Linked DNA regions of Homo sapiens: all the other regions are linked to region 1. The links are contacts of gene promoters, found by promoter capture Hi-C in blood cells and fetal thymus (Javierre and others, 2016). All regions are on one chromosome and are shown on one strand. The core of a region is centred on a gene start or on the middle of the fragment in contact, and the rest is flanking DNA. Distances in the headings are between cores, read along the strand shown.

Region 1 (5,042 bases), core at 1,035-3,534:
GATTTAATAGATCTAAAAAGGCCAATTCCCTTCTTTCTCCCACAATTACTTCCTGTGGGTTATCATTCACATATGTAAATGAGACAGAGAAGGGAGAAAAGCCACTAGTGGGAAACTAGCTGTCTAATGGGGGGTTGGGGGAATAAGGGTGCTGCAAAGGGGCAGCTCAGTATCCTGCTGCAGGTCCTCTTGGCAGATGTTCAAGTAGCCCACTGACCCCATGGCCCCAACAGTAAGTGGTGGCTCCCCATCTCCCTGCGTCTATTTCCCTTGTTTGTTCCTCACTGAAGGCTGTGCTCAAAGACGTCCCTGCTGCCTCCAACTAGTCCATCCAGCATCTCCCTTCTCTACCCCTCCCCCAAAGAATGCCATCCCTTCAGGCTCCAACCCTTAATCCCCACATCCTCCTTTCCCCTCCCCCACACCTCCTAAAGCCAACCTCCCTTAAGTAACCCCTCCCTGCCCGGCCTGGGTGTCAACCTACACGATCTGGGATTAGCAATTTCTTCTTTCCAGATCCAGTCCCAAACCTCCAAAGATGGAAGGGCCATAGGCAGCAAGCAACTTCCTTTCCATGGTCTTTATGGGTAGCTGGTGGCCCAGGACCACCGGAATGCCTCTAGGATATTCAGGAAGGGGAAGCCTGGGAGGAGGGAGACCTGAAGTCTCTGGCTCCTTGTTTGAGGCCAGGAATGTTAAGACAGCAATCAATGGCTGTCTGGGGCCATAAATGCCAAGCGGAGAATAGGACCAGAGGCCAGCCTCCCTTCACCCCCTGCCCTGCGACACTGAATTTCACCCCCTACTGTGCTGCCCTGCTTTAACTGAGAACTTGGGGTTGCGACCTACCGACTTCCCTCCCAGCCTGGCCCAGGAATGTAAGGAAGGCCTGGGCTCTTTGGGTTTTCCTTCCTCACGGGAACTGGACAGCAAAGACCCCAGTCCTGAGCTTTCAAGCCCCCACAGGGATCCTTCAGGGATCTGCCAAACCCAGTTTTTAGTGACCAGCCAGGTGAGGTCTGCATTAAAAAGGGGATGAGGCTGACTTCTCGGCTTTACGCCCCTTGGGTCCAGTAGCCAGTTGCCCTCACTCTCTCCCGCCTTCTGAGCTCCATTCAGACGTTGGAGGAGCTGGGCTCCCGGCTTAGGCCCGGCATGTGCTTCCCTGGCCGGCCTGCTCGCCCTCCCCCCACCGGCAAGCACAATACAACCTTAGTTTCTGCCACATGGGGTCACCTCCCTGCCCCCTGCCCCTTCCCAGGGGAAAGAGGTAATAGACACGTGGTAAGCCGGAGGGGTTCCCGGAAGGGGGCGGGGGTGCTGATAATTGGTGCTGCCTCCCACTACTCCCCCACGAGATAGTTAACAGGGACTCAGAATTGGGGTGCCGAAGCAAAGACAGGGATGCATAATGAGGGCTCCCGATGGCCCTCAATTCAACTGCGAGCCCGGAGCCCACCCGTGGATATGGGCGCCTAGACGCCCTTCCCTGGGCAAAGTTACCGGAATCAGTCTCACCTGGTGCACAAAGACATCCACTGGGGGGTCGAGCGCGACCCCGGCGCGGGCGGTCATGGACAGGAAGCCGAACCCCATGCGCACGTTGAACCACTTACAGATGCCCGCACCGTGCAGCAGCTGAGGCTCGTCCGCCGCCCGGGCCGCGTCCTCCGGCGCCTCCTCGGGCGCCTCTTCTGCCGCCTTGGCGCAGCCACCTGGAGAGAGGGAGGGCCGGGCACTTAGCTGGGGGGCACGGAATCGGAGGGCCGTCTCGGGCCCCAGGCAGGGAGACCCGAGTATCCAGCCCCACAAGTGGACAGCCAGGAGGGGGCAGCTACCAAGCAACAGAAGAGAAGAAACCTATCCCGGTCGCCTCCCGCGTTCCCCTAGCGTACACCGGGACAGTAGTGCCCCGAAAGTTTTGCTCCTCTTCCCACAACGCGTTTCCCAGAGACTCACGGCGGGACAAGCCTCTCCTCTCCATCCACCCACGTAGTCTGGCGCGCACGCCACTGGGACACCAAGGTTCCTGGCCCCAGAGACGGCCCTATGAAGCAGAAGGCCGCACCGTCTTGGGGTCCTTTGGGCAGCCTAGGACTCAGTTCCCCACCTCCCTTCTACGTGGCTCCTGGCCGCCCCTGAATCCTAAAGTGTCCCCGCTAAGTCCCGAGCTCGAACCTGCAAACTGCTGGTTGGACACGGAGCCCATGGTCGTCGGCTGAGCCCGTGGCCCCGGGCCCCTGGTCGGGCGGCTGCTGGCCCCGGAGAAGTCCGAAGGCAAAGGGTTGGTTCGGAGAAGAAGCTGCTACATCTTCCCCCGCACAATAGCGGTGGGAGGGCCCACGGCTTTTCAAAGGCTCCCAAATTCTAAAAGACAATGACCCAACCCCCCGCGGGCAGCCCCCTCCCCTCCCCTCCCTCTCCTTTCCCCTCCCTTTCCCTCCGGCTCCAGCTCCGGCCCTCCCCCACAACTCCGGTCTCTGACACCTCTGGGGTGTCCCTTCTCAGAACCTTGAGGTTTGACACCCCCTCCCCACACGCACAACTGGAGATGGGTCTGTCTGCCCTAGAAGACTTGAGTACCCCGGAATTTGAGATCCTGCACTTTGGACTCAGTAGGGGTCCCCAAAGCAGATACAGGTGGGGGACCTGGTGGGGGGGGTAGTTTTAAAACCACGTGACTGCACACACACACACACACACACACACACACACACACACACCACCCCCACCCCCCGGGCAGATAATTATACATTCCAGAGAGTTGGGGGAGGGAGGTGTGAGCCTGGCGGCGCTGGCCAATCAGAAACACAAACCACCTGTCAAGGGAGAAATGAATGGGCCCTCCCCCTCCCCCAGCCCTTGAGCTCCCCTCCCCCTCTCTTCCCCCTCAGGCCTCTGAGCTGACCCGGCTGCTTGGAGCTGACCCGCTCTCACCCCCCACCCCCGTGTGCTTAGATAGACCTGGAGTTCTGGACACTGGGAAGCCCGGGATGGGGGAGCAGGGGAGAGGCTGGGGACACACAGGGCTGATCTGTCCTGACCAAAGCGCTGCCTTCCAAAGTCTGTCTGCCTCTGACTACATCTGAATGTCTGCCTCCCAGAGTTTCTGACTCAGAGTTTTTCTGGGCCTCCCCCAGTTAGAAAAGAGAAAGTGCTCTTAATTGATTCGTTGTAAAGAATTCTTCCTTCTTTCCTCCCTCCAAACCTGTGTGTCTAAAGTTAGCCCCAGGTAAGCTCCCTGGAGAGCAGGAGGAACCCAAAGAGTCTTGAAGCTGTTTCTCCACCAGCTGCCTTCTCGTCCTACCCCCACCCCATCCCCATCCACTGCTGAGAGAGGGACTGGGTGGGCTGGTGGGTAGAGGTACTTCCTCTCTACTCTTCACACTCTTAGATTCCTAGGCCCTCCTTGTTTCAGAGTAACCACCCTAAAATGCGCTCCCATTCCGTAGTGGGGCTGGTGGAGGAACAGGACTGGGGGGCCTCCTCATTTGAAGAGGTAACCTCCCCTTCTAGGAGATAAAGACGGCTGGCTAGTGGGGGTGGCTACTGCCCTGGTCGGAGATGGACAATGGCCCGGGGCTCAGTGCACGGCCCTGGCCCTGCCCCTTCACTTCCGGTGTTCAGTTCAAACTGGACAATGCCAGCTCCGGCCAGTTCCCCTCCCCCACCACTACAACCCATTTAAAGGGACAGAGCCTGCTTTCGGGGGCATCCGCTTGCTCTGAATTCAATCTTCTCCACCGAGTGTGCAGAACCTTTTGGAATTCTCACGCTGTGGCTCTGTGTGTGTGTTTGTGTGTGTGTGTGTGTGCACGTGCGGATGTGGGCACATGTGTATTTCAGAGAGACCGGATGAGTGGGGGTAGGGAAGGGGAAGATGGGGAGGAAAGCAAGAGACTGCAGAAGTTATTTCCCTTTCTCTCGTACGGGGTGCTCTCCAAGAAATGAAAACTTGAGCGTAAGGAATGGGAGGTGGGACTTCGTGGGGTAAAAAGGACAAGAGTGGCCCTTTGCTGCTCCGCCTAAAAAATACATATCGTTAACAAATATTATTAGCAGTGCCCCACTCCCATCTGAGGACTCTAATTTAGAATTATCAAGAGTTCTCCTAGTACATCAGCCAAAGCCATTTTTATTTACATAATTCTCCTCTCCCAAAAGTCTTATCTCCCGCTGTTAGTGGCGCCCTTAAAATATATTCGCTCCGTGTACCTCTGTTCCTAAGACTCAGGAGCAAGTGGCTGAGGTCTGGCTGAAGAAAAGGGAGGGAAAGGGGAGTTGAACGCTCTGGCTTCTCTAGGTGGGTTCTCAAGTGATGCGAATTCGGTTCCCCGGGAATGCGCGGCCTGCTTCTCTGTCCAGGGTCCTGAGGGCTCCAGCAGCTCTGTCCACGGTGCTGAATTGAGTCACGCTGTCTTGATTCCCAGCTCACAGTTTTGAGAATAACTTCTTGAGTTCCCACCTCCAAGTCTTTCCCAGAAAACCTGATTTTCCTCAATGCCGGTTCCCGCTGTGGTAACACTGACACATTTCAGATGAATGAAGACACTTTTTTTGGGGGACGGAGTCTTGCTGTGTTACCCAGGCTGGAGTGCAGTGGCACGATATCTGCTCACTGCAACGTCTGCCTCCTGGGTTCAAGCAATTCTCGTGCCTCAGCCTCCCGAGTAGCTGGGATTACAGGCACATGCTACCACGCCCGTCCAATTTTTGTATTTTTATAGAGACGGGGTTTACCATGTTGGCCAGGCTGGTCTTGAACTCCTGACCTCAAGTGATCCGCCCGCCTGGGCCTCCCAAAGTGCTGGGATTATAGGTGTGAGTCACCGCACCCGGCCTAAGATACTTTTTTTGAATGCTAAAGAAATGGCACTTTCGACCGGGCGTGGTGGCTCACGCCTGTAATCCCAGCATTTTGGGGGGTCAAGGTGGGAGGATTGCTTGAGGACAGGAGTTTGAGACCAGCCTGGGCAACATGACGAAACCCCATCTCTAAAAAAAATACAAAAATTAACCGGATGTGGTGGCGCATGCCAGCT
Region 2 (5,042 bases), core at 1,284-3,783, 420 kb before region 1:
AGGAAAGGCTTAGAGAGCACCTTACCTTTTCCCAGAGCAATGGGGAGCATCCAGTCCAGACCCAGGTGAGCTCTCGGCCCAAACCCAAACTCTTCTGCCAATCTACCAGCCCCCAATGAGGACAAGCGGGGACAAACTGCAACATGGTTCACGAGCTCTCCCCAAACCCAGAAGTCCTTGCTTTCTCCCTCGCTGGGGACAAAACAGTCACCAGTGAAGATACCCGGTCAACCCAGAGAAGGTCCTGCTTCTAGTTCAGAAGTTAGGCCAGATATCACACTGCAGGGTCATGTGGGTCAACCACGGCAAGTACTGCTTCCTCCTGCCTCGGCTGCAGCCCTGGGTGTGGGGACTGAGAGGGCAGCCCAGGGGATACTAGAAAAGGCATTTCCAAAACACTCATGTGGCCAGCCCAGGGAAGTGGATCTGAAACTCAGCCCAGAGCTGAGCTCTGGGCCCCCCAGAGCTTCTGCTTGTAAATCATCCCTGAACTTTTTATCCACCCTACTCAAAAAAAAGGGCAGAGTGTGTGGTTAAAGGGTAAAGGGAGAAGCTAATTTATAGGAAGTCTTCACCTTGCTTCAAGGGGAAACCCAAAGTTGCAGATACATGATCTGGCAGCTAGAAAGGGTACCTGGGGGCGGGTGTCTCTATGATAGCCTTACCATGGCCACATGCCCTTGGGAAGTGTTTTTTGATAAAGACAACACAAGTACTAATAGCAGCCAACATAGTGTGCTTGTTACTGGGCTAAAAGCTTGCATGTGTGACCTCATGCCACCCTCAGGACAACCTTACGGGGTGGGTACTATTATAAATCCCATTTTACTGATGAGGAAACTGGGGCACTGAGGGGGTGAAGTGACTGCCCTGAGGTCACGCAATTAGTGGGTGGTGGAGCTGGGATTTGAACCAGGTCTGTTAGAGTTCTTAACTACACTGTATAATTAAGAGGAACAACCACAAAGGATGGGGAGTTGGGAGGGGACAGCAGGGCTTATGAAGCAAGGGTGGGTGGGTGGGCGTGTGAGTGTGTGTGCAAGGAATCACAGTGCAGGTGGCTCAGAGGTGGGTGGAAAACTTCTAATACAAATATATGACCCTCCATCCATAAAATGGAGATTATGTGTGGGCCAATCCTGGGTCACCGGGGGATATGAAGAGGACAAAAACCTAGGGGGGCAAATATGACCTGTCACACGAAAGCACTCCGAAGTCTTTCCTGAAAAACAACAAGGCACCGCAGCTGTTGCTGATGTGGAACAGGCCAGAGGGACGTTCCAGAATGTTGAGCAGGGAAAGAAAGCCAGGTGGTCAGCAGGGGGGCCAGGGGCCTGGGAGCCGGCTGGGTGGAGGCGGGCGGGATCTGAGGGAAGGACAGGAAGCTCTGGAGAACCTAAGGAAGGTTCTGGAGAAGGAAAGGGGGCCCGAGAGGCCCAAAGATTTTGAGAAAAGATGCCTTGGGGCCTAGGGTGTGCGTGGCTGAGGGGAAGCAAAAGCGGGGTTGGTGTCTGAGACTAGAGAAAAGGAGGGGACCCTGGAGGGACCCGGAGAGGGCAGCGAGGATGACTAGGATGTTTATGGTGGGTGTGCACAGCCAAAGGACACACAAGATCTAGAAGTGGTCAGGAAGGGATACAAGGGTCAGAAAGAACTTGGGGGGTTGGCAAGAGATGGTCCAGGGATGGGTGAGCAGGAGGGGCCTGTTCAAGAAGCCCTGGGGCAGGTTCTGAGAGGGCAGCGAGGATGGGGGCCGTGGAGGGGCATGGAGGCTGGTGTTCCTGGCAGTGGCAGGCAGACAGGTGCCAGGGTGGGGTCAGGGAGAATGGAGGGGCTGGGAGGGTGGAGGGCACCAGCGCGGATGGGGTACCCAAATGGACCAAGGAGGATGGGGCATCTGGCGGGGATGGGGGTGCGCAGGGGCCAGGGGGGCAGACAAGAGGCCCGAGGAGGATCCCAAAGGGGCGGGGAGGATGAGGACCAGGGAGGCGAAGGGGAAGGCACGGAGTGCCCAGCAGGGATTGGGAAGGTGGGGTGCGCGGCAGGGGGCTGGGAGGGGGCGCCGAGGCAGCGGAACTCACTCAAAGACGAAGAAGAGGCCGGTGGTGGTGAGGATGAGCAGCAGCGTGAGCGCGAAGACGCCGCCGTGGCCGGCCAGCATGAGGCGGCCGCCGCAGTAGAAGCGATTGCGACCCGGGAACACCTCCCACTTGCGCCGTGGGCGGCGGCCGAGGCTCCCGCTCCCGCTGCCGCTGCCGCTGCCGCTGCTGCTCCAGCGCGGCGGGGCGGGGGCGGCGGGCGGCGCGGGCCCGGGGCCCGGAGTCGGGGACGCGGCGGGGCCGGGACGGCGCGCCCCCGGGGAGGCGGGCAGCGGGGCGGCCCCGGGGCTGATCTGCTGGTACTCGCAGTCCTTCATGCAGCCAGCCGCGGGCCTCGGCTCCGCGCCCCGCGGGCCGGCCGGGCCACTCCGGGACCGGGCCGAGCAGCGGAGGTGGCAGCGGCGGCGCGCGCGGCGCTCGCTCGCTCACTCACTGGGGCGGCCCCGCCATCGCTCCGCCCCCGGCCCGCCGCCACCGCCCGCCGCGGCCTCCCGCCGCAGCGCCCCCTCCGCCTGGGCCCGGGATGGCGCTTGGCCGGAGGCCCAGCTCTGACCCGCGGCGGGGCCCCGCAGGTCCCCGGCCCTCCCAGTCTCCCTTTTCCCTTCTGCACAAAGAGGGGGCCAGCAGACGCGCACTCGAGGGCTCTTTCTGTTCTGCAAGCAAGCCGTTTGTTGGGCGTCCACTGTGTACCAGGCACGGTGCCAAACGCCGAGATTCAGGTGGTGGACTTCGTGATCTACTTCTGGCAGTCTGTAATTCCCCAGGCTTCGCCCATCTCTGAGGGTCGAACTGACAGGCATTTGCAGAGGCAGGCAGGCGCGGGGAGGTGGGGCACACGATTTGCTTTGAAAGCCAGGACCTCTTCTACCTTGAAGTCCAGAGTGCCCACTGGAGGTGTGTGGCACACCCTCTGGCCTCGTTCACCAAGTTCTGTGTCCTGGGCCCAGGCCCAGATTTTCCTAGGTAGCACATAATGTAGAGGGGTCATGCCTGAGGGCCCCAGTGTTTTTTCAGGAATTCTGGGAGTATTCATTTTCTACTGCTGTGTAACAAGTTACCACAAATTTAAGGCTTAAAACAAACATTATCGGCCGGGCGCGGTGTCTCACGCCTGTAATCCCAGCACTTTGGGAGGCCGAGGTGGGTGGATCACAAGGTCGAGAGAGACCATCCTGGCCAATATGGTGAAACCCCGTCTCTACTAAAAATAAAAAATTAGCTGGGCATGGTGGCACGGCATCTATAGTCCCAGCTACTCGGGAGGCTGAGGCAGGAGAATTGCTTGAACCCAGGAGGTGGAGGTTGCAGTGAGCCGAGATTGTGCCATTGCACCCGGCCTGGTGACAGAGCAAGACTCCGTCTCAAAAAAAACAAAAAACAAACGTTATCTAACAGGTTCCAGGTCAGGAGCCAGAGAACAGCTTAGCTGGGTCCTCTGCTTAGTCTCACAAGGCTGCAATCAGGCTGCATTCTCATCTGGAGACTCAGCCAGGGAAGAATCCACTTGCAAGCCCATTTGGGTTATTGGCAGAATTAACTTCCTTGCGACTGTTTAACTGAAGAGGGCCTGGGATTTTTGCTGGGTGACTGTATAACTGAGGAGGGCCTGGGATTTTTGCTGGGTGTCTGCTGGAGGCCTCTCTCAGGATCCAAAAGCCACCTGCAGTTCCTAGAGATTATCACATTTCCTTGCCATGCAGGTTTCTCCTACATAGCCACTTAGTTTCTTGAAACTGACAATGAGGGTCTCTAGCTCCAGACTATGATGATAGAGTTTTATATAACTTACTATATATGTGACAGAGTGGCATCCCATCATCATTGCCATCTCCTATGGTTAAAAGCAAAGCACAGGAGCCATCTGCACTCAAGAAAAGGGAATCACACAAGGCGTAAATACCAGGAGGCAGGAATCATTGGGGGTCAGCTTAGGGTATGTCTGTCACACTGTGGTTACTGTAAAACCTAAGGAAAAGTGCAAGGAAAAAAAGAACTGGAGACTAGGAGAAAGTAAAAAAGGAAGTAAAAATATACAATGGGGAGGAGTAGGAAGCCGACAACAGTGACCTTAAGGATCAATAATTGATATATATGCCAAAGGCTGCTCAGCCGTGCCTTTGGTGCCAAAGGCTCTCAATATGATGAGCCCCATCTTGAGCAAACCACATGGTGAGCTTCCTCCCTTTTTGCTCCTTGGCTGTGGAACAAAGTCACAAAACTAGACATACTGGTTCCAGTACAGATTCCTGTTGTCCCACCTTAACTGGGTCCTCTTGCAACCTGAAACCTTTTCTTTTTTCTCGTCACTTTACAGAAACCAAAGCAATCCTACTGGATTTTCAGTTTACCTCCTCTCTATCTCATAATTTCTCTTTATTTGCATCTGTCCTTTCTTCTTTTTTAGAAGATGTGGGCCTCCTTCTGTCCATGGCCAACCCTCCACTCATATCCTTATTTTATTTTATTTTTTATTTTTTTGAGATGGAGTTTCGCTCTTGTCACCCAGGCTGGAGTGCAATGGCATGACCTCGGCTCACTGCAACCTCTGCCTCCTGGGTTCAAGTGATTCTCCTGCCTCAGCCTCCCAAGTAGCTGGGATTACAGGCATGTGCCATCATGCCCGGCTAATTTTTGTATTTTTAATAGAGACGGGGTTTCACCATGTTGGCCAGGTTGGTCTCGAACTCCTGACCTCAGATGATCCGCCTGCCTCGGCCTCCCAAAGGGTTGAGATTACAGGTGTGAGCCACTGCACCTGGCCTCTTTTTTTTTTTTTTTTAAGTAAGGCTGATGGAACTCCATTTTATTTATTTATTTAAGCCCAATAGAACTCCAAACTCATGTCCTATCTCTCTTCCTGTTCATTAATACCGCAAACACATGCTCAATTCTACATCAATTAAAAAGCAAGGCTGGGCGCAGTGCTCACATCTATAATGTCAG
Region 3 (5,042 bases), core at 1,874-4,373, 370 kb after region 1:
ACCACAGGCGCATGCCACCATGTCTGGCTAACTTTTAAATGTTTGTAGAGATGGGGGGGGGGTCTCACTATGTTGCCCTGGCTGGTCTCGAACTTTTGGGCTCAAGCAATCATCTCACTTCGGCCTCTCAAAGTGCTGGAGTTACAGATGTGAGCCACCACACCTGGCCCTGCACCTTGGCTTTCTTATGCTCTAGGCCTGGGGTCTTGGGCCAGGGTCATAGGCCTCTGCGTGGTCAGGGTCAGTCTGGAATGGAGTAGGATGCTGGCCTGGGCTTAGCAGTATTTGGCTGCAGGTCAGAGCTTTTTCTCCAAGAATATGCTAACCCAGATGAAAGCGATAATGATGAAGATGATGATCGTGCCCTGGGTGGGTCCAAGGATTCTCAGGATCTGTTCTTTCCTTCTTTCCATTCAAAAATATATTTATTGGCCAGGTGCGGTGGCTCACACCTGTAATCCCAGCACTGTGGGAGGCCGAGGCAGGCAGATTACCTGAGGTCAGGAGTTCAAGACCAGCCTGGCTAACACAGTGAAACCCTGTCTCTACCAAAAATACAAAAATTAGCCGGGCGTGGTGGCATGCGCCTGTAGTCCCAGCTACTCAGGAGGCTGAGGCAGGATAATTGCTTGAACCAGGGAGGCAGAGGTTGCAGTGAGCCAAGATCACGCCACTGCACTCCAGCCTGGGTGACAGAGCAAGATTCCGTCTCAAAAAAAACCAAAAAATATATTTATTGAGCACCTACTATGGAGTAGGTGCTGTTTTAGGCACCAAGGATACTGTGGTAATCAAAGGAGACTGTCCTGCCCTCATGGAGTGTCCATTTTAGAGGGAGAAACTGACAATAAGTACATTCATAAATAATTTCAGTGTTAAGAGTGGAGAGGAAATACAACAGAGTGATAGGGCAGAGACCTTGGGAGGTGAAGGCAGCCTCAGACCTGCAGGCCAAAGAGGTCTTCTTTGAGGGGATGACACCTGAGGATCAGGAGCCAGCCCTGCACCAATGGGCAGGCGTGGGAGGGGTAGTTTCCTTTAGTTTCCCCTGTCCTTGCCGTCCTCAGGGACCCCCAAGGGCGTTGACTTCACAGCTGTTCGTGATCTGCTGCTGTCGGTGGAGGGGGTAGAAGCCCTGCACAGCCTGCATATCTGGGCACTGACGGTGGCCCAGCCTGTTCTGTCTGTCCACATCGCCATTGGTGAGTGCTTGGGACACTCAGGGTGGGGTGGGAGACAGGCAGCCAAAGGCCTAGTGCCATCCCCAACGGGTCCAGGTGACCCCAGATGCTCACAGTGCCCATGCATCAAGCCCAGCCTCATGCTGAGTACTTGATACGCATTATTCCATCTGATCAGCACAATCTCATTTATCCATGAAGAAACTGAGGCTGGGGTTGGGTGGTAAAGTTACTTGCCCAGGCTTTTACAGCTAGTATATGGCAGTAGGTGGCAGATTCCTGGCCTTAAGGCCAGTGCTTTACCAGCTCTTTCAGGCATGAGCCAGGTCTGGGCTGGGAGGCTACCTGGCAGAGGAATGGAATCTGGGGGCTTCTCCATGTTCATGGTCCCCCATCCTGTTCTGCTGGGGATGGGGTATGAGATTTGGGCTCCTGATGGTTCCAAAGGGCCAGAGTAAATGGCTTCCCCCGCTGTGTCCTCTCGGCCCCCAGCTCAGAATACAGACGCCCAGGCTGTGCTGAAGACAGCCAGCAGCCGCCTCCAAGGGAAGTTCCACTTCCACACCGTGACCATCCAGATCGAGGACTACTCGGAGGACATGAAGGACTGTCAGGCATGCCAGGGCCCCTCAGACTGACTGCTCAGCCAGGCACCAACTGGGGCATGAACAGGACCTGCAGGTGGCTGGACTGAGTGTCCCCCAGGCCCAGCCAGGACTTTGCCTACCCCAGCTGTGTTGTAAACCAGGTCCCCCTCCTGACCTCTGCCCCACTCCAGGAATGGAGCTCTTCCCAGCCTCCCATCTGACTACAGCCAGGGTGGGGACTCAGCGGGTATAAAGCTAGTGTGACCCTGCTCTTCCAGCTCCTGGGCCAGCTCTGGAAGGGCTGTATTTGGGCCTAATCCTCAGCAAATGTTCTACCACTCGCAGGGGCAAAGGTGGTGAGCCACGGGACGTCCAAGGGGAGGCTGGCCCCAGCGCGCCCATACTGCCTGCCTCATGCCCCATTCTCAGCCTGGCTGGCCTTTGCCTTTATGAATCTGAGCCCCTCCATCTGCCTATAGCAATAGGCACGGGGGTGAGGACCCTCACACTCTCATTTGAGCCTCCCTGAGGCAGGGAGCCAGGAGGCACCTGAGGCCTATCTGTGCCTTAGTCACTTCAGCTATGAGCCAAATGTTCCCTTTCCTGGAGGGGAGAGGCTTCTTACTAGGTAAGAGACAGGTTTCCTCTTTCCTTATTTCCTCAGCTGTGCCAACACAAAAAACAACTTTGGCACAGGTGGTGGGCAGGGGGTAGAGAGATTTCAGCTTGGGTTCTGCACTAACAGCCTCCAAGCCCCCTGGCACTTCTGTTGCCCTGAGAGTGTCCCAGGGGATTCAGAGTCTCCAGAAAGATATGGCTGGGCCAACTCTGTTGCCTACCTGGCCTGACCCAGTCGGAGCCTGACATGGTGGAGGGAAAGGGAGACAAGTGGGGCTGCACTCGGTCCAGAGGCCAGCTAGGAGGGAAACCGCAGCTTCCTGGGGCTTGTGTGTGAAGATTCCTGACTTAGGGGTGGCTTTTGTTTACAAGATGCAAGAGGGGAAACCTGTCCCCGACTCATCGAGACAACATGCCCAGTTATCAGGGAGTCCTGTGTCACAAGGTCTGTCTCTGCCATTGTAAGCAAGTGCCTTGGGCGAGCTGGCCTCTGCCCCACAGTCTCATCTGTACACCGACAGGGTTGATGCCTCCCTCACAGGGTTGAGAACAAGAGCCAGTTGGCCAAGTACCTGTGGTTGTTGAAGATTGGTTACTTTTACCATCCTGGGGACAGGGAACTCTGTGGCCCGAGGCTGCCTCACTGAGGAGTCAGGTGGGCTTCCCAGCCTCCCCAGGGGCAGTGCTGAGTTTGTCTTGACTGTTCTGGCCCAAGGTGGGAGGAGGTGGGTTTGGTCACTTGCCTCCCACTTTAAATCTCTGTCTTTCCATCTGTGAAATGACCTCTTTGTGCCTTCCCAGCACTGTCATCCTGATCGCCTGTGTTCTAGGTAGGTGGGTCCTTCAGCCCCTCCAGGTCTGTGAAAAGTCTGTGGAAAGCACTGGCCTGGAGAGGGGTGGGGGGTTGCTGGTGGGTGCTCCATTCCACCACAATCTCAGGGGACTCAACCTCCCCTACCCAACTCCCCACCCCCACCCAAGCCATGGCAGGCCCCAGGAACTTGATCCTGGGCTTTGCCGTATGCCAAGTCCTTACACCCCTCTCAAGAGACAGTCATTGGCTGGGCACGGTGGCTCATGCCTGCAATCCCAGCACCTTGGGAGGCTGAGGCAGGCAGATGACTTGAGGCCAGGAGTTCGAGACCAGCCTGGCCAATATGGCGAAACCTCATTTCTACTAAAAATACAAAAACTAGCCAGGCGTGGTGGCTTGTGCCTGTAATCCCAGCTACTCGGGAGGCTGAGGCAGGAGAATCGCTTGAACCGGGGAGGCAGAGGTTGCAGTGAGCTGAGATCACACCACTGCACTCCAGCCTGGGTGACAGAGCGAGACTCCAGCTTAAAAAAAAAAAAAAAAAAAAAAAAAGGAGACCATCACTGCTGTCCTGCATTCTTACAGATGAAAAAACAGGCTCAGAGGTTGAATCGTTTTCCTGAAGTCAGACAGCCAGTGCAGGCAGGTCTGGGATTTCTGCCTCATTTCGGTAGACCTTCCTCTACAGCAGGGTCTGGGGGCCTGTCGGTCTGCGCTGCCTGTTGGTACAATACAAACCCCTGGGACCAGCAGTGCCCGGCCCATGGGTGAGGACATGCCAAGGCAGTTCAGTGTCCTGGGTGTCACAGCTGTGATTGGAAAGGTGCCTCTTTCACCTGGCTGGGCCTGGCATCCAGCGCCCTCCCCACCCTGGGAAGGCTGCCTGGGCCCCAGCTGTATGCTTTCCCACCCACCCTCAGTTCTTGACTCCGGGCCGGACTGCCTCTCCCCCACCTCTTTAATTTCCAGTCCGCCCTGTACCTCAAGCATCTCACAGCACCACGCCTCCCAAGGGTAACCCACTCTGCCACTCAGCTGTGACTGGCTCTAGGGAGGACCTGAGTCATCCAGGGGCCCGCCGAGGTCAAGCTGGGGGGTGGGGGTGGAAGGCCTTGGAGAGGCCTAAGGGGACAGTATGTTCCTGCCAGTGAGACAGTCACGGGAGTTTCCAGAGCTGCCAGGCCATCAAAGCAGGAAAACACCTGACACCCTGGACCTGGGCTGGACCCACCACCCTCACCCTCTGGAGTCGCACGCGCTCCCAGGCGAGCCCTGAGCCCTGAGCCCCTCCCTCGAGCAGCTGCTGTAAGGGTATTTATAGCCTGGAGCGTGAGGGGGCAAGGACACGCGCTTTATTTCGGAAGTGATAATTCCAGCTCCAGGTGGGTGAACCCCGGAGGACCTAGTGTCCCCCCCCAACTCCATTCTCACCTATACCGCTCGGGACAGTCCCTGCTCGCGCCCAGCCCACCTAGAAACAGTCCCTTCTTGCTGAGTTCCAAGTGTGCAGGCGAAAGAGATGGGGCTGTTCTTCAGATTTCTCTTCCCAGCTTTCAGCCCCCGAGCTGCCCACAGCGCTCACCCTCCACATCCCGGCCGCCCTCTGGACATGCGGGTGAAGAGTGCGGCGCGACGCTGACCTCTAGTGGTCGGCCTTGGTAGTGCAGGGCAGACGGCCGAGGCTGAGCCGCGGGCCGTGCGGGGACAGGCCACTTGTTCCCATCCCGCTTTCCTCGCCCCACTCCTCGTTTACCCGCACCCCTCTGCTCCTTGGTTGAGGCTCAAGGATTGAGCCTGACAACCCAGGCGTCTTTGGGTAGTTGCCTTCCCGGGACTAGGAAC
Region 4 (5,042 bases), core at 870-3,369, 350 kb after region 1:
GACCATCATCACTCAGCTGGAGGATTCCCGTCGAGTGACCAAGGTGAGCGGACAGAATAGTCCTGCCTGGGGATTTGGAGCTTTCCAGGGCAGCCTGGTCTCTGGGGAAGGCTCACCCATAGGTTGTGGCTAAAGGTTGGGGCCCGGAGCCTGGGGCGGTCAAGCAGGGATGGCAGGGGAGGGACTAATCCATTCATCCAGTCTCTCAACAAATGCTTCTTAAGCACAGCTGTGTGTCCGGCCCCACCCAAGATGTGGGGGATGGAGGAGTGAACCAGACAGACGTGGTCCCTGAGCTCAGGGAGTGTCCCATCAATAATTCTCAGTATTTATTCAGCACAAATTGTTTTCAGAGCACAGTTCTTCAGTGTGCTGTAGACCAACACTTCCCAAACTTTGAAGTGCGTGAAAATTACGCTGGGATCATGTTGAAATTCAGGTTTTGATTCAGTTGGTTTGGAATGAGGCATAAGAGCTGCATTTCTAGCCAGTTCCCAGGATTTGCCCAAGCTGCTGGGTCCACAGACCACATGTTGAGTAGTGAGACTGTTGAGGGCAGAAGGGAACTTTTCTATCCCTGAAAAAAGCTTCCACGATTTTCCATGTTCACTTGGGGTAGGGATCTGGAGATGAGATGAGGGGAAGGGGTCATCATAATTGCTAGTGGATGAAGAGTTGGGCGAAGGGTAGGAAGGAGGGGAACATTGTGATCACCCACGAGAGGCTCCCGGTCTGATGAGATGCTATTGTCACACCCATTTTATAGAAAAGAACATAGAGAGAAGGGAGCTTCGGTTGAGGAGGGTGCTAGGAAAGGAGCTGTTTTTCCACCTCTCCTAGGACCAAATGATGCAGAGCTTCCCGAATCCAGTCTTGGTCCTGAAAGGGAGGGAAGAGTGTGAACTGGGACATATGGGAGGCCCAGGAAACGTTAATTTGTTGAAGGTCACACAGCTAAAAGGGAAACACAGCTAAAAGGCAACAGAGAGCTGGGCACAGTGGCTCATGCCTATAATCCCAGCACTTTGGGAGGTCAAGCTGGGTGGATCATGAGGTCAGGAGATCGAGACCATCCTGGCCAACATGGTGAAACCCCATCTCTACTAAAAATACAAAAAAATAGCCAGGCGTGGTAGCGTATCTATAATCCCAGCTACTCGGGAGGCTGAGGCAGGAGAATCGCTTGAACCTGGGAGGTGGAGGTTGCAGTGAGCCAAGATCGCACCACTGCACTCCAGCGGGGGCAACAGAGCGAGACTCCATCTCAAAAAAAAAAAAAAAAAAAGGGCAACAGAGAAAGACAGGGCAGATCCCACATTGGGTGACTGTTGCATTGGTCTAAGAGGTGATGCTCCAATGACCAGCTGAGGTTGGGGGACAGGGGGAGGGTGCAGGAACAAGGAAGAACATGTTGTGTCATGTGACCCTAGAGCCTCTATTTTGGAAGAAGGGGCTAGCTGTTTTTCAAGGCATCATCCTCCAAATATCACTGGCGTACTAAATAGCTGTGAGGCCAGATGAGTGTTTTCTTCTTGTTAAGTCTTTGTTTCTTCTTCTGTAGTGTGGGGATGTATGTAGTGAGATCTCTTCTAGCTTTAGATTCCTTGCTACTGTCCTAGGAAGGCAGTGTAGTGGGCAGGGAATAAAGACCCTACAGAACGTGACCACAAGACTTCCGTCCTCAGGAGAACAGTCACCAGGTAAAGGAAGAGCTGAGCCAGAAGTTTGACACGTTGTATGCCATCCTGGATGAGAAGAAAAGTGAGTTGCTGCAGCGGATCACGCAGGAGCAGGAGAAAAAGCTTAGCTTCATCGAGGCCCTCATCCAGCAGTACCAGGAGCAGCTGGACAAGTCCACAAAGCTGGTGGAAACTGCCATCCAGTCCCTGGACGAGCCTGGGGGAGCCACCTTCCTCTTGGTGAGCAGGACTAGAAGGGTCTGGGTGGGGTCAGTTCAACTCTACAGCTCTAAGGTTCAAGTTATGCTTCCCCACTGACCACCCATGGGCCCTTGGAAAAGCCATTTAAACCTCTGTGAGCCTCAGTTTCCTCATCTGTCAAATGGGCATGTAACACCCCCCACCTTCCTCTTACTGATTTTATGATGATAAGATAAGAGGATGTTTATGAAATGACTTTGTAAGCTGCAAAATACAGTGTCCCATCTACAGACTATTAATTGAGCCCCTACTGTAGGCCAGGCACTGAGGTGGAAGACAAGGAGATAAACCAGACACAGCCCTGCCCTCAAAGAGCTTGTTGGGGAGGACAGAAAAGGCTCAGTTATAAGACTTCATAGTTCAGTTCAATAAAAATGTTCTAGGCTTCTACTGTGGGCCAGGCTTTTTGCTAGACATTAGGTATGAAAAGGTGGTTAGGATTGGGGAGTTCAGGGTTTAGGAGTTTTGGGATTGATACCCCTAGAATCCAAGCTTCCTGTCAAGACAGTGGGTCCTAGGGTGATGACCAAGACCTGTACAGACCACAGACAGAGGGAAAAGTTCCAGATTCTGCTCAGTTTGGGGTGGGGAGCAGGTCACAACTGGGCTAGGGAATGGCACCAAATATCTACCTACAACACCTAGTTCACTAGTTTTGCTGATTTCCTGCGGTTACCTCTTCTGCGGTCCTAATCCTTTGTTCTCTCTCCCCCTGCAGACTGCCAAGCAACTCATCAAAAGGTCAGTGTCTTCCTAGAGGCTATGATCCAAGCACCTAGTTCCCACCAGGACCTCTGTCCAGGAAGCCTCATCCTGGGCATTAGGCCTGCTGGGAGGGTCTCACTCTAGGCTGGCTTCCCTGACCCTTTGCATCCCTGACTTTTTGGACCACTCCTTGTGCTTGAGGTTGGAGAGGAAATACTCCATCCCTCCAGGGGAGCCTCTGGGTAGAAGGCCTGGGCGTGGCAAAGCATGTGCCCTCTCTTCCCTGCACTGAGCCCCAGAGACCTCATCCTGCCTCTCTTTCTGTCTCCCCTGCAGCATTGTGGAAGCTTCCAAGGGCTGCCAGCTGGGGAAGACAGAGCAGGGCTTTGAGAACATGGACTTCTTTACTTTGGATTTAGAGCACATAGCAGACGCCCTGAGAGCCATTGACTTTGGGACAGGTAAAGGAGGTGGTGATGCCACTTGTCTATTTGCCTGCCTGACCCCTGGAAACCAGCATCCCTCCAACTGAGCCCGATGGGGAGGCAGATACACTAATAAAGATCCCCAAATATCAATCAAACTCATATAGCCAACTTCTGGCCGGCTGTGGTGGCTCATGCCTGTAATCCCAGCACTTTGGGAGGCCAAGGTGGGCGGATCACTTGAGGTCAGGAGTTTGAGACCAGCCTGACCAACGTGGTGAAACCTCATCTCTACTAAAAATACAAAAATTAGCCAGGCGTGATGGCATGTGCCTGTAATTCCAGCTACTTGGGAAGCTGAGGCAGGAGAATCACTTGAATCCAGGAGGTAGAGGTTGCAGTGAGCCGAGATTGTGCCACTGCACTCCAGCCTGGGCAAAAGAGCCAGCCAAACTCCATCTCAAAAAAAAAAAAAAAAAAATTCATATAGTCGATTTCTAGATGAGCCCAGAGCCTAGCACAGTGCCTGGTGCAGAATTCCTGCTTCATAAATTACATATGGATCCATGGCAGGGAGGCCTCTTGGGGCAGTAGAAATAATATGCCCTCTGGAATCAGACAGTCCTGAGTTTAAATCCTGGTTCTGTCATTTGTTTATCTGTGTGACCTTTGGCAAGCCCCCTTCTGCCTGAGTTTTATTTTCTAATTTAAAAAGTCAGGTTAGAAGTGAGCCCTCTAATAATGACCAACTCATGGTGCTGTTGCAAAAAATCAGATATCAATGCAGAAAGGTCCTGTAGAGCCCTAAAGATGTACTAGTTATTGCCTAAAGGTAGTCTTAGCTTCAGTTTCTTAATGCTATCACCTATGATACCCAGGCACCTTAATTGATCAACATCATGTCCTCATTTCTGTTTATAATTACTCTTCCATAGAGTGCCTATAATAATTGTAACAATGCAACCGTAACAATAATAAGGGTGAAAATAACAAAGGAAATGAAGAAACTGAATGGAAGCAAATATGTTAATTTGCTAAAGGTCACACAGCTAAAAGGGAAACACAGCTAAAAGGCAACAGAGAAAGAGAGGGCAGATCCCACATTGCTGACTGTTGCGTTGGTCTGAGAGGTGGTGCTCCAATGACCAGCTGAGGTTGGGGGACAAGGGGATGATGAAGGAACAAGGAAGAACTGTAAATGGCTGGCGTGAGAAAGAGAAGAGCTTCTTGGCACCTCCTGTGTCGCTCTCCTACAAACCTTCAGTAGCTGGTGCTAAGTCTGTTTTCAGAGCCCCAGATATACCCCATTCATAGGTAAGGACAAAATACATCCCAAAGCAGAGACACCAATGGCCTTGGGGACATCCACTGCTGTAGTGAGCTGCTCCACTGTCAGCTTCCCTAAGCTAAGATATTCAAGAGTGGGTCAGCCAGGCACAGTGACTCACGTCTGTAATCTCAGCACTTTGGGGGTCCAAGGCAGGTGGATCACCTGAGGTCAGGAGTTCCAGACCAGCCTGACCAACACGGAGAAACCCCGTCTCTACTAAAAATACAAAATTAGCTGGGCATGGTGGTGCATGCCTGTAATCCCAGCTAACTCGGGAGGCTGAAGCAGCAGAATTGCTTGAATCCGGGAGGAGGAGGTTGCAGTGAGCTGTGATCACGCCATTGCACTCCAGCCTGGGCAACAGGAGTGAAACTCCATCTCAAAAAAAAAAAAAAAAGAAAGAAATAGATATTCAAGAGTGGGTCATACGGTGTGAACATAACATTGTGAAGTCCTGCACTGGCCTTCCTAATCTCCCTGAGCCTCAGTTTCTCCACAAGTAAAATGAGGAGAGTACCAACAGTCACCAGTTACTGAATATTCTGTATGTCCTAGGCGCTAAGCCCTTAACATAAGTTTTATCATTTAACACAACTTCATGGGATAGGTTCTGTTACCATCTCTATTTTGTAGTTGAGGGAA
Region 5 (5,042 bases), core at 781-3,280, 330 kb after region 1:
TCACTGTCATAGTTTCCTCAGTTATAATTTTTGCAAAGGCAGTTTCAGAGAGACATAGAGACAGCCACAGAAACAGAGAGAGAAGAAAGGAGAGCAAGCTTTCTTGTGTCTCTTTTCTTTTTTTTAAAGATGGGTCTCTCTCCGTGGCCCAGGCTGGAGAGCAGTGGTGTGATCATAGCTCACTGCAGCAGCCTTCAGCTCCTGGGCTCAAGAAATTCTCCCGCCTCAGCCTCCCAAGTAGCTGGGACTACAGGTGTGTGGCATTACACCCAGCTAATTTTTTTTTTTTTTTTTTTTTTGGTAGAGACAAGGTCTGTTCTATTGCCCAGGCTGGTCTTGAACTCCTGGGCTCAAGTGATCCTTCCACCTTGACCTCCCAAAGTGCTGGAATTACAGGTGTGAGCCACCGTGCCCATCTGCCCATCTGCTCAGCTGCCCAGCCTTATGTCTCTTCTTATAAGGGCACTAATCCCACTGGACCTACTTTCATGAACTCATCTAACCCTAATTACCTCCTAAAGGCCCCATCTTCAAATACCTTCACATTTGGGGTTAGGGCTTCCACATGTGAATTTTGGGGGAACACAAGTATTCAGTCCATCACAACACCCCAGTCCATTTCCTAGAAGTGTAACCTTAAGCAAGTCACCTAATCTCTGTGTGACTCAGTTTTCTCATCTGTAAAATGGGGATGGTAGTGGTATCAATGTCATGAATTAACACATGAATTAATACCTATAAAACACTTAGAACAGACTGTGATAGCCTCCAAGATACAGCTCAATAATTCTTGCCTCCTGGTAATCAGGTCCTGTGCAGTTGCCTCCCGTACTGTATCAGGGTTGGTCTGTGTGTCCAGTAGAATACAATGGAAATGATAGTGTGTGACTTCTGGGGCTAGGTCATAAAAGATAGTACCACTTTTGTCTTGCTCTTTTGGATCACTTGCCCTGGGGGAAGCCAGTGCCATGTTATAAGGATGCTCAAGCAGCCCTATGGAGAGGTATGTGTACTGAGGAACTGAGGCCTCCCACCAATTTGCCAACCATGAGTGTGCCATCTTGGTAGTGGATCCTCCAGCTCCAGTCAAGCATTCTGCTAAACTCAACTGCAGCCCCAGCCTATATATATATATATATATATATATATATATATATTTTTTTTTTTTTTTTTTTTTTTTTTTTTTTTTTTGAGACAGAGTCTCACTGTGTTGCCCAGGCTGGAGTGGCACTATCACAGCTTGCTGCAGTTTTGACCTCCTGGGCTCAAGCAATCCTCCTACCTTAGCCTCTTGAGTAGCTAGGACTACAGGCACGCAAAACCATGCCCAGGTAATTTTTTTTTTTTTTTGTAGAGACAAGGTCTCCTTGTGTTGCCCACGCAGGTCCCAAACTCTTGGATCAAGCAATCCTCCTGCCTCAGCCTCCCAAACTGTTGGGATTACAGGCGTGAGCCACCGCGCCCAGCCCCAGCCAACATCTTGACTACAACCTCCTTAGAGACCAGATCCAGAACCACCCAGCTTAGCTGCTCTTGAATTCCTGACCCATAGAAACTGTATGAGATAATAAATGTTTACTATTGTCTTAAGCTGCTACATTTTGGGATAATTTGTTATGCAACAACAGATGGTACGCAAGCCATGGGGTTACCCATACTAACTGTTCAGTAAATGCTAACCCGTGTTATTCCCAACTGTGATAATGTTAACAGCGTTTGTTAAGTGTCTGCCATGTGTCAAACGTGTGCTACGTGCCTGTGCAAATGGACTCCCACTTCTGTGCCATCAGTTTTCAGCAAGGCATAGAATGCTGGGGGAGGATAGTCACTAGGAACCCTTGACTCTCAGGATTAGAAATGCCCACAGACATCATTACTCTACCCAATTGTCATTTCATAGATGAGGAAACTCACACACACAGGTCACGTAACCTGCCCAAGATAAAAGAGCTGATATGTGAAGAAGTCAAAACTTGAACTCAGATCCATCCGTCCTGGGGCAGCCTCTTTGTTGCTCTGCACTCTTAGGTTCTTATAGTAAGGATTTATTGCATTTCACAGTTTATATGTTGCACAGTTTATAAAGCACTTTCAATACTTCATTTCAGGATCATCAGTGCAGAGCCCCCTCCTGACCCTACTTGCCTCCATTTGCCCTGGGGCAGTCCCTTTCTCTAAAGACCACCCACTCCCCAGAGCCTTTGTAGCTGTCCACAAGCATTATCTGGTCCTGGGGACAGTGGGAGGAGGCCTGTGTGGCTCCCAGCCCAGGCCATGAGTGAGTAGGTCCTGGGACATTCTGCTCCCCTTCTGTGGCATGCAGGCCAGGCCCAGTGGACTTTGCCCTGGCACTGAGGGCACTGCTTCATGTCCCAGACCCCATAGACCTGCCTCTGCCAACTGCTCCAGCTTTAGCCACTAGATCAAATGACCCATTGGTTTGATCCTGTGATTTGGGATGATTCTTCAATGAGGATGACATCAAAGCATGTGATACGGATCTTAAACCATAAGAAAAAAACAGTCCCTGTGCCACGCCTGTTCCACTTCCTGAGGGTGCTCCAAGCAGAGGCTTGAGGGGAAATGCAGAGCAAGGCAGGGCAGACCTCACACTCCTAGGGAGGAAATGAGGGAGAACAGGTACACACATGTGAAAAAGATCTGCTCCATGATGTACCAGGGAAGCACTTCCACAAGCCTGAACTATGTGGACATGAAAGGGGAGATGGACAGTTGTTTCCTCTCCAGCATCACCACCCCTTGGGCCTGTGTCATCACCGGAGCACTCCTCTGAGAACTTGGCCACTGGGGATGTGGAAGGACCATTCAGGATCATCTCCTGTAGATGCTCCATTTGGCAGATGAAGAAACTGAGGGTGGGTATGGTTTGCAGGGCATCACATTTCAGGTCTCCAACAGAGATGGAGATGGAACCCAGGTGTCTGGGCCCTAGGCCAGGGTTTTCTCCTCTGAACCAAGAGGCATCAAAAAAATCTCAGATCTCTGAAAAGTTCCCTTTCTAGAGACAATTAAAAAAAAAACAAAAACATAGGCTGGTAACGATGGCTCATGCCTGTAATCCCAGCACTTTGGGAGGCTGGGGCAGGCAGATCACCTGAGGTCAGGATTTAGAGACTGGCCAACATGGTGAAAACCCATCTCTACTAAAAATACAACAAATTAGCCAGGCGTGGTGGTGGGCACCTGTAATCTCATCTACTCGGGAGGCTGAGGCATGAGAATCGCTTGAACCCAGGAGGTGGAGGGTGCAGTGAGCTGAGATAGCGCCACTGCACTCCAGCCTGAGTGACAGACAGCAAGACTCTGTCTAAAAAAAGAAAAAGAAAAAGCATAGACTTTGAGGGTTAAACAGGCCTGTTGCAGCTTTGCCTACATGAGCTGTGGGTCTTGGGGCAACTCCATACCCTAAACTGTGCCTCATCTGTGAAATGAGGACAATAAGTATGACATGTATACTTGAAAATTGCTAAGAGAGTAGATTTTAAGTGTTCCCACCATGAAACAATAAGTATGTGAGGTCATGCATATGTTAAATAGCTTGATTTAGCCATTCCACAATATATACATATATCAAAACATCATGTGGTACACCATAAATATATGCAATTTTTACTTGTCGATTAAAAAAATTTAAGGATAACCTATTTATAGTTGTTGTGAGGACTGAATAAAATAGTGCCTCAAAACTCTTTGTAGATGCCCAGCCACTTGCAAGCACTGAAATCAATAAAACACAGCATTATAATTGCTATTACCCTCTACCTCCCCTTTTTCCTTGCCAGGCCTAGACCATTCTCCCTGATGCCTTGCCTGTCTTCTACCCAGCTGGGACCCTCTTGGGCACTACAGCTTCCTACACTCATGACACAGACTTTGGGAGCAATTCTAAATGACAGGTCTGTTGCTTAGCTGGGTGACTTTCTACAAGTCACTTAAGCTTCAGTGCCTGATATATAAAAATGAGAATCATAATACCCAGAATAATTCTCTGATAAATCAATGGCACAGAAGAATGAGAGGGATGACAGTTGTTACAGTTTAAAAGAGATCCATGAGACAAAAACAACAGAGGTCTCAGCCTGAGTAACGGAGTGAGACCCTGTCTCAGAAAAAAAAAAACTTTAATTATTGTTTGTTAACATAATGGCATGGTGATTATGTAACAAAAATCCTTATCTATGAGAAATGCATATTGGAGTATTTATGGGTGAAATGACTTAATGTCTAACATTTTCTTTAAAATATTTTAGAAAAGGCTGGGCACGGAGGCTGAGGCAGAGAATTGCTTGAACCCAGGAGGTGGAGGTTGCAGTGAGCCAAGATTGCACCACTTCAGCCAGCCTGGACAACAGAGTGAGACTCCTTCTGAGAAAAGAAAAGAAAAGAAAAAATAAGAAAAGAAAAGAGGCTGGGTGCAGTGGTTCACGCCTGTAATCCCAGCACTTTGGGAAACCAAAGTGGGAGGATCACCTGAGGTCAAGAGTTTGAGACCAGCCTGGCCAACATAGTGAAACCTTGTCTCTACTAAAAGTAAAAACAAAATTAGCTGGGCGTGATGGCGAGTGCCTGTAATCCCAGTTACTCGGGAGGCTGAGGCAGAAGAATCGCTTGAACCTGGGAGGTGGAGGTTGCAGTGAGCCAAGATCACGCCACTGCACTCCAGGCTGGACAATAGAGTGAGACTTTGTTTCAAAAAAAAAAATTTAGACAAAAGAAGCGTGGGCCAGGCACGGTAGCTCACGTCTGTAATCCCAGTAGCTTGGGAGGCTGAGGTGGGCTGATCACTTGAGGTCAGGAGTTCGAGACCAGCCTGGCCAACATGGTGAAACCCCGTCTCTACTAAAAATACAAAAATTAGCCGGGTATTGTGGCATGCGCCTGTAATCCCAGCTACTCGGGAGGCTGAGGCAGGAGAATTGCTTGAACCCGGGAGGCAGAGGTTGCAGTGAGCCAAGATCGCACCAATGCACCCCAGCTTGCGCAACAAGAGCGAAACTCCGTCTCAAAAAAAAAAGAAAGAA
Region 6 (5,042 bases), core at 1,211-3,710, 310 kb after region 1:
AGCCTCCTGCGTAGCTAGGATCATAGGCATGCGCCACCATGCCTGGCTAATTTTTGTATTTTTGATAGAGATGGGGTTTTGCCATATTGGCCAGGCTGGTCTCGAACTCCTGACCTCAGGTGATCCACCCACCTCGGCCTCCCAAAGTGTTGGGATTATAGGCGTGAGCCACTGTGCCCAGCCACCCCAGCCCCATTTCTGCAGGGGGAGGCTGAGGGAGAAACTCCTTTAGGAAGGGTATTAGCTTTGGCACTAACACGCTGTGTCATCTTGAGCAAGAAAGACTCCCCCCTGCTGTGGGCCTCAGTCTCCCCATCTGCAAAATGAGGGGGTCTGACCAGCTCATCTCTAAGGATCCTTATAGCTCCAACACTCTGATTCTTGAATCCTACACCTCCACTATGCTTGTAATAAGAAGATCAAAATGTTTATTTCTGATCCAGCCCCTGAGACAAGTGATCTGGGGGCCCACAAAGGTCTTGCACCAGGTATAACATTAGCTGTTTTTGTCTTTGGATGGGTCCTAGTTGTCTTCTTGGTGAGGACTGAGAACAGCTGGAGCAGCTGATGGTTAAGACCCAGGTTCACATCTCCTGCCCCTGGGTCCAAGAGCTGCTGGGGATGCCACCATCTGAAAACCATGCTGGATGGGGGTGTTGGGAGTGTCCCAAACTGAGGATTCACCCGACTCCTCAGCAGGTCCTGAAGTGTTAAAGCTTCGGCTTCCTCTGATTCTCTGGCCTCTTCTGGATGCTTCATGTTGCAAGAGCAGAAACTCAACTCAAAGTGACTGAAAGGAATGATTGGTACATTTACCTAAGAGAAATGGAGGTGGGAGGGCTAGCTTCGGGAAGGAAGTTTGATTCAGCAGCTCACATGTCACCAAAGACTCTAGTTTCCTCTGTTCTGCCTCCCATGATGCTGCCTTCATCTTAAGGCTGGCTTCCCTTGTGGGCCTCGGGGTCACCAGTGGGAATTCAGCCTTATGAGATCATATCCTGCAGGAATGAGAAAGTCAACTTCTCTATTCCTCAAACAACATTCCTGAAATTAAGTCTTGTTGGACCTGATTGGCTAGGGGCTAGGGAGTAGGGGGTAAGAGATAGGGTTGTGGGCCCCTCCTTGACCAAGCTCTGTGTCCTGAAGGATGGGGCTTACTGGCAGGCTTAAATTCAGAGGCTGGTGGGTGGCTAACAAATGTCTTGACATATACCCCTCTCTTCAGAAGTCAACTAGTGCCTGGCACATGGTGGCACTTTGTTCGTTAAGTCAACAGCTATTTGGTGAATATCCACCACGTGCAAGAAATTGTGCTTGATGCTGAGAAAAAGCAGTGAACAGAAAGATAAGGTCCCTGCCCTCATGGACTTTCTCTGGGAGGGGAGACAGACATATAAATATGCAGACAGTACAATTCAACCAGTGCCAGCTGAGGTTACATAGCCCAGGGGAGGAAATCCAAACTGTGCTTCTGTGGAGGGGAATGGCGGGCAGGAAAGCTTTAGAGAGGAGGTAGCATTTACACTGGGCCTTAAATTTAGCCATTCCACAATGTATTCATATTTCAAAGCATCATGTTGTACATATGAGTAAATAAATACAATTTTTGTCAATTTAAAAAATAAATAGAAATTTGAGGGTCAGAGTGAGACACTCCTTTAAGCTGACATTCTTCAAATATTTGCTCTATGGTTATTTAGAGCAGGGGCTGGGAAGGAGGCACAGATAACCACACTTAGCCTCTCGATGGTCCTGACCTCCTGGACCCTGGACAAACCTGTAGACTCCACAAGGCCCGCTAATTCATGTAGCTGCGAATATTACTTAGGCTGGCCCCTGACCTCCCAGCCCCAAGCCTTATCCACATTTGTCTTCCAACAGTATACAGAACTCTCCTGGAGAGGAGTGCTAGTGAATGGAATATTCTGCAATGTGTATGGGAGCCAAAGTGCCAGGCACCGTGCTAGGCACTGGGGATGTGGCCATGAAGGAAACATACGGCATACACAATGTGTCTTCGTCTGTTCATGCTGCTATAACAAAATACCTTAGACTGGGTAATTTATAAACAACAGAAATTTACTTCCCCCAGTCCTAGAAGCTGGGAAGACCAAGATCAAGGTGCCAGTAGATTCCATCTCTGGTGAGAGCTGCTGTCTCTGCTTCCAAGATGGTGGCTTGGTGCTGCATCCTCACAAGGCAGAAGTGGAAGGGCAAAAAGGGATGAATAGCTCCCTTGCACCCCTTTTATCTTTTTTTTTTTTTTTTTTTGAGACGGATTCGTGCTCTGTTGCCAAGCTAGAGTGCAGTGGCACAATCTCGGCTCACTGCAACCTCCGCCTCCCAGGTTCAAGTGATTCTCCTGCCTCTGCCTCCTGAGTAGCTGGGACTACATGCACGTGCCACCACACCTGGCTAATTTTTTTTTTTTTTTTTTTTTTTTAGTAGAGACGGAGTTTCACCATGTTGGCCAGGATGGTCTCAATCTATTGACCTCGTGATCTGCCTGCCTTGGCCTCACAAAGTGCTGGGATTACAGGCATGAGCCACCGTGCCCGGCCCCTTGCACGCTTTTTATAAGGTCACTAATCCTACCCATGATGGCTCCACCCTCATGACTTAATCACATACTAAAGGTCCTACCTCTTATCACACTAGCAATTCAGTTTTAACATGAATTTTAGGGGGACACATGGAGACCATAGCGCAGTGCCTGTTCTCATGAAACTTGCCTTCTTATTTACACCCACAATGATCATGGAAAGAGACACATAAATACAGTTCTGGAAAGCGCTATGCAGGAGAAGCTCTAGGGCGCATGAGACTTATTAGGAGGCAGGGAGGAGGGAGGTAGTATGGGCCACGGAAAGCCTCTGAGCATATGACAGAGGCCTTTTTTTTTTTTCTTTTTTTTTTTTGGAGACAGTCCCACTCCGTTCCTCAGGCTGGAGTGCAATAGTGCGATCCCAGCTCACTGTAACCTCTGCCTCCCGGGTCAAGTGATTCTCCTGCCTCAGCCTCACAGACAGCTTGGGACTACAGGCACACACCACCACTCCTGGCTAATTTTTTGTATTTTTAGTAGAGACGGGGTTTCGCCATGTTGGCCAGGCTGGTCTTGAACTCCTGGCCTCGAACTCCTGGCCTCAAGTGATCTGCCCGCCTCAGCCTCCCAAAGTGCTGAGATTACAGGCGTGAGGCAATGCACCCAGCCACATGTGACACTTATGCTAAGAAATGACCGAGGGGCAGAAATGAGCTAAGTGAGAAGCGGAGGGAGGAGCATGCTTGGCATTCAGGACGGCCGGTACCAGCTGCTCTATGCAGGCCTCAGCTGGAAGTTTAAATCAAGAGCTGGGGGGAAACGATGGGGAGAGGAAGATACTAGGAAGCTCCATTGTGGGTATAAATACAAGCTTTTGCTTCCAAAGCCCAACTTTATCAGTAATAAGGCCCATATTTTTATCTCTCCATTGCCTTGATTGCCATTGGGATTTCCTAATAGGTCCAGATCCCAACTGGAGGGGGAATAAGTTGTAAGGTTTAGCCTTAAAACCCCTACACAAGCAGGGGTGATATCCTGTAGGGTCTTGTAGATCATGTTATGGATTTGGGCATAAAAGCAACAGGTCAGCAAGGGTCTATTTTTTTTTTAATTGTGGTAAAATAGAGGTAACATAAAATTTGCTGATTTAATCATTTTAACTGTATAGTTCAACGGCATTAAGTACATTTATATTGTTGTGCAACCATCACCACCATCCAGAACTTTTATTTTTATTATTATTGTTTGAGATGAAGTCTTGTTCTGTCTCCCAGGCTGGAGGGCAATGGTGTGATCTCAGCTCACTGCAACCCCCACCTGCCGGTTCACACAATCTTCCCGCCTCAGCCTCCCAAGTAGCTGGGACTATAGGCATGTGCCACCATGTCTGGCTAATTTTTGTATTTTTAGTAGAGACAAGGTCTCACCATGTTGGCCAGGCTGGTCTCGAACTCCTGACCTCAAGTGATCCACCTGCCTCAGCCTCCCAGAATGCTGGGATTACAGGTGTGAACCATCCAGCCCGGACATTCGGGGTTTTTTTATCATCCCAAACTGCAACTCTGTATCCATTAAACAATAACTCTCCATTCCTTCTCTTCCCAGCCCCTGGTAACTGGATAACCACTATTTTACTTTTTTTTTTTTAAGACAGAGTTTCACTCTTTTCTCCCAGGCTGGAGTGCAATGGCGCAATCTCAGCTCACTGCAACCTCCACCTCCCAGGTTCAAGCGACTCTCCTGCCTCAGCCTCCCAAGTAGCTGGGATTATATGTGCCTGCCACCACACCTGGCTAATTTTTTGTATTTTTTGTAGAGATGGGGTTTCACCATGTTGGCCAGGCTGGTCTCGAACTCCTGACCTCAGGTAGATCTGCTAGCCTCGGCCTCCCATAGTGCTGGGATTACAGACATGAGCCACCGCACCCAGCCTCTACTTTCTGTCTCTATAATTTGACTATTCTAGGTACCTCATATGAATAGAATAATTCAGTATTTATTTTTTTGTGTCTGGCTTATTTCACTTAGTGTAAGGTCTCCAAGTTTCACCCATGTTGTAGCATGTGTCAGAATTTCATTCCTCTTTAAGGCTGAACAATATTCCGTTTTGTGTATATACTATATTTTGTTCATCTGTCAACCTGTCAATCACCAAAGAGTTTTAAGTAAAGATTTTATTTATTTTATTTTTATTTTTTTTTGAGGTAGGGTCTTGCTCTTTGCCCAGGCTGTAGTACAGTGACACGATCGCAGTCCACTGCAGCCTTGACTTCCTGGGCTCAAGCGATCCTCCCATCTCAGCTTCCCAAGTAGCTGAGACCACAGGTGCATGCAACCATACCCAGCTAATTATTTGTTTATTTACTTATGTGGAGACATAGTCTTGCTATGTTGCCCAAGCTAAACTTGAACTCCTGGCCTCAAGTGATCCTCCTGCCTTGGCCTCCCAAAGTGTTGGGATTGTAGTTATGAGCCAACACATTCAACTAAGTAGAGA

What was found. The method cuts DNA at HindIII sites, captures the fragments that hold promoters and counts their contacts. A CHiCAGO score of 5 or more calls a contact.
Region 2: the fragment with the promoter of ZDHHC18 here is called in contact with the fragment with the promoter of LIN28A in region 1 in 1 of 17 cell types (fetal thymus); the score reaches 6.4 in fetal thymus.
Region 3: a contact is called between a fragment that was not itself captured here and the fragment with the promoter of LIN28A in region 1, in 2 of 17 cell types (M2 macrophages and M0 macrophages). The highest score is 5.8, in M2 macrophages.
Region 4: a fragment that was not itself captured here is called in contact with the fragment with the promoter of LIN28A in region 1 in 4 of 17 cell types (M2 macrophages, M0 macrophages, M1 macrophages and 1 more); the score reaches 11.4 in M2 macrophages.
Region 5: a contact is called between a fragment that was not itself captured here and the fragment with the promoter of LIN28A in region 1, in 1 of 17 cell types (M2 macrophages). The highest score is 6.3, in M2 macrophages.
Region 6: a contact is called between a fragment that was not itself captured here and the fragment with the promoter of LIN28A in region 1, in 6 of 17 cell types (M2 macrophages, M1 macrophages, M0 macrophages and 3 more). The highest score is 11.7, in M2 macrophages.

Annotation. Positions count from the first base shown.
Region 1 is chr1:26,408,059-26,413,100 of GRCh38, reverse strand. LIN28A (lin-28 RNA binding posttranscriptional regulator A) reads right to left here and starts at 2,284. Exons shown (of 4, transcript NM_024674.6): 1 at 2,179-2,284; 2 at 1,519-1,715. The coding sequence starts at 2,209. RefSeq lists enhancers at 3,018-3,575, 3,576-4,135. The HindIII fragment of the contact is 9,111 bases long and covers 1-5,042 here.
Region 2 is chr1:26,824,179-26,829,220 of GRCh38, reverse strand. ZDHHC18 (zDHHC palmitoyltransferase 18) reads right to left here and starts at 2,533. Exons shown (of 8, transcript NM_032283.3): 1 at 2,082-2,533. The coding sequence starts at 2,416. RefSeq lists silencers at 2,266-2,475, 2,486-2,635, 2,599-2,751. The HindIII fragment of the contact is 7,154 bases long and covers 760-5,042 here.
Region 3 is chr1:26,035,937-26,040,978 of GRCh38, reverse strand. SLC30A2 (solute carrier family 30 member 2) reads left to right here. Exons shown (of 8, transcript NM_001004434.3): 7 at 1,068-1,202; 8 at 1,674-3,727. The coding sequence ends at 1,819. EXTL1 (exostosin like glycosyltransferase 1) reads right to left here. Exons shown (of 11, transcript NM_004455.3): 11 at 4,515-5,042. Among named protein-coding and RNA genes, the nearest start is that of SLC30A2, 7.7 kb to the left of the region's middle. RefSeq lists an enhancer at 4,666-4,765. The HindIII fragment of the contact is 8,648 bases long and covers 1-5,042 here.
Region 4 is chr1:26,055,267-26,060,308 of GRCh38, reverse strand. TRIM63 (tripartite motif containing 63) reads left to right here. Exons shown (of 9, transcript NM_032588.4): 4 at 1-43; 5 at 1,686-1,919; 6 at 2,659-2,681; 7 at 2,982-3,106. Among named protein-coding and RNA genes, the nearest start is that of TRIM63, 9.8 kb to the left of the region's middle. The HindIII fragment of the contact is 630 bases long and covers 1,805-2,434 here.
Region 5 is chr1:26,073,317-26,078,358 of GRCh38, reverse strand. No RefSeq gene overlaps it. Among named protein-coding and RNA genes, the nearest start is that of TRIM63, 8.2 kb to the right of the region's middle. The HindIII fragment of the contact is 3,860 bases long and covers 101-3,960 here.
Region 6 is chr1:26,098,624-26,103,665 of GRCh38, reverse strand. No RefSeq gene overlaps it. Among named protein-coding and RNA genes, the nearest start is that of PDIK1L, 11 kb to the left of the region's middle. The HindIII fragment of the contact is 1,917 bases long and covers 1,502-3,418 here.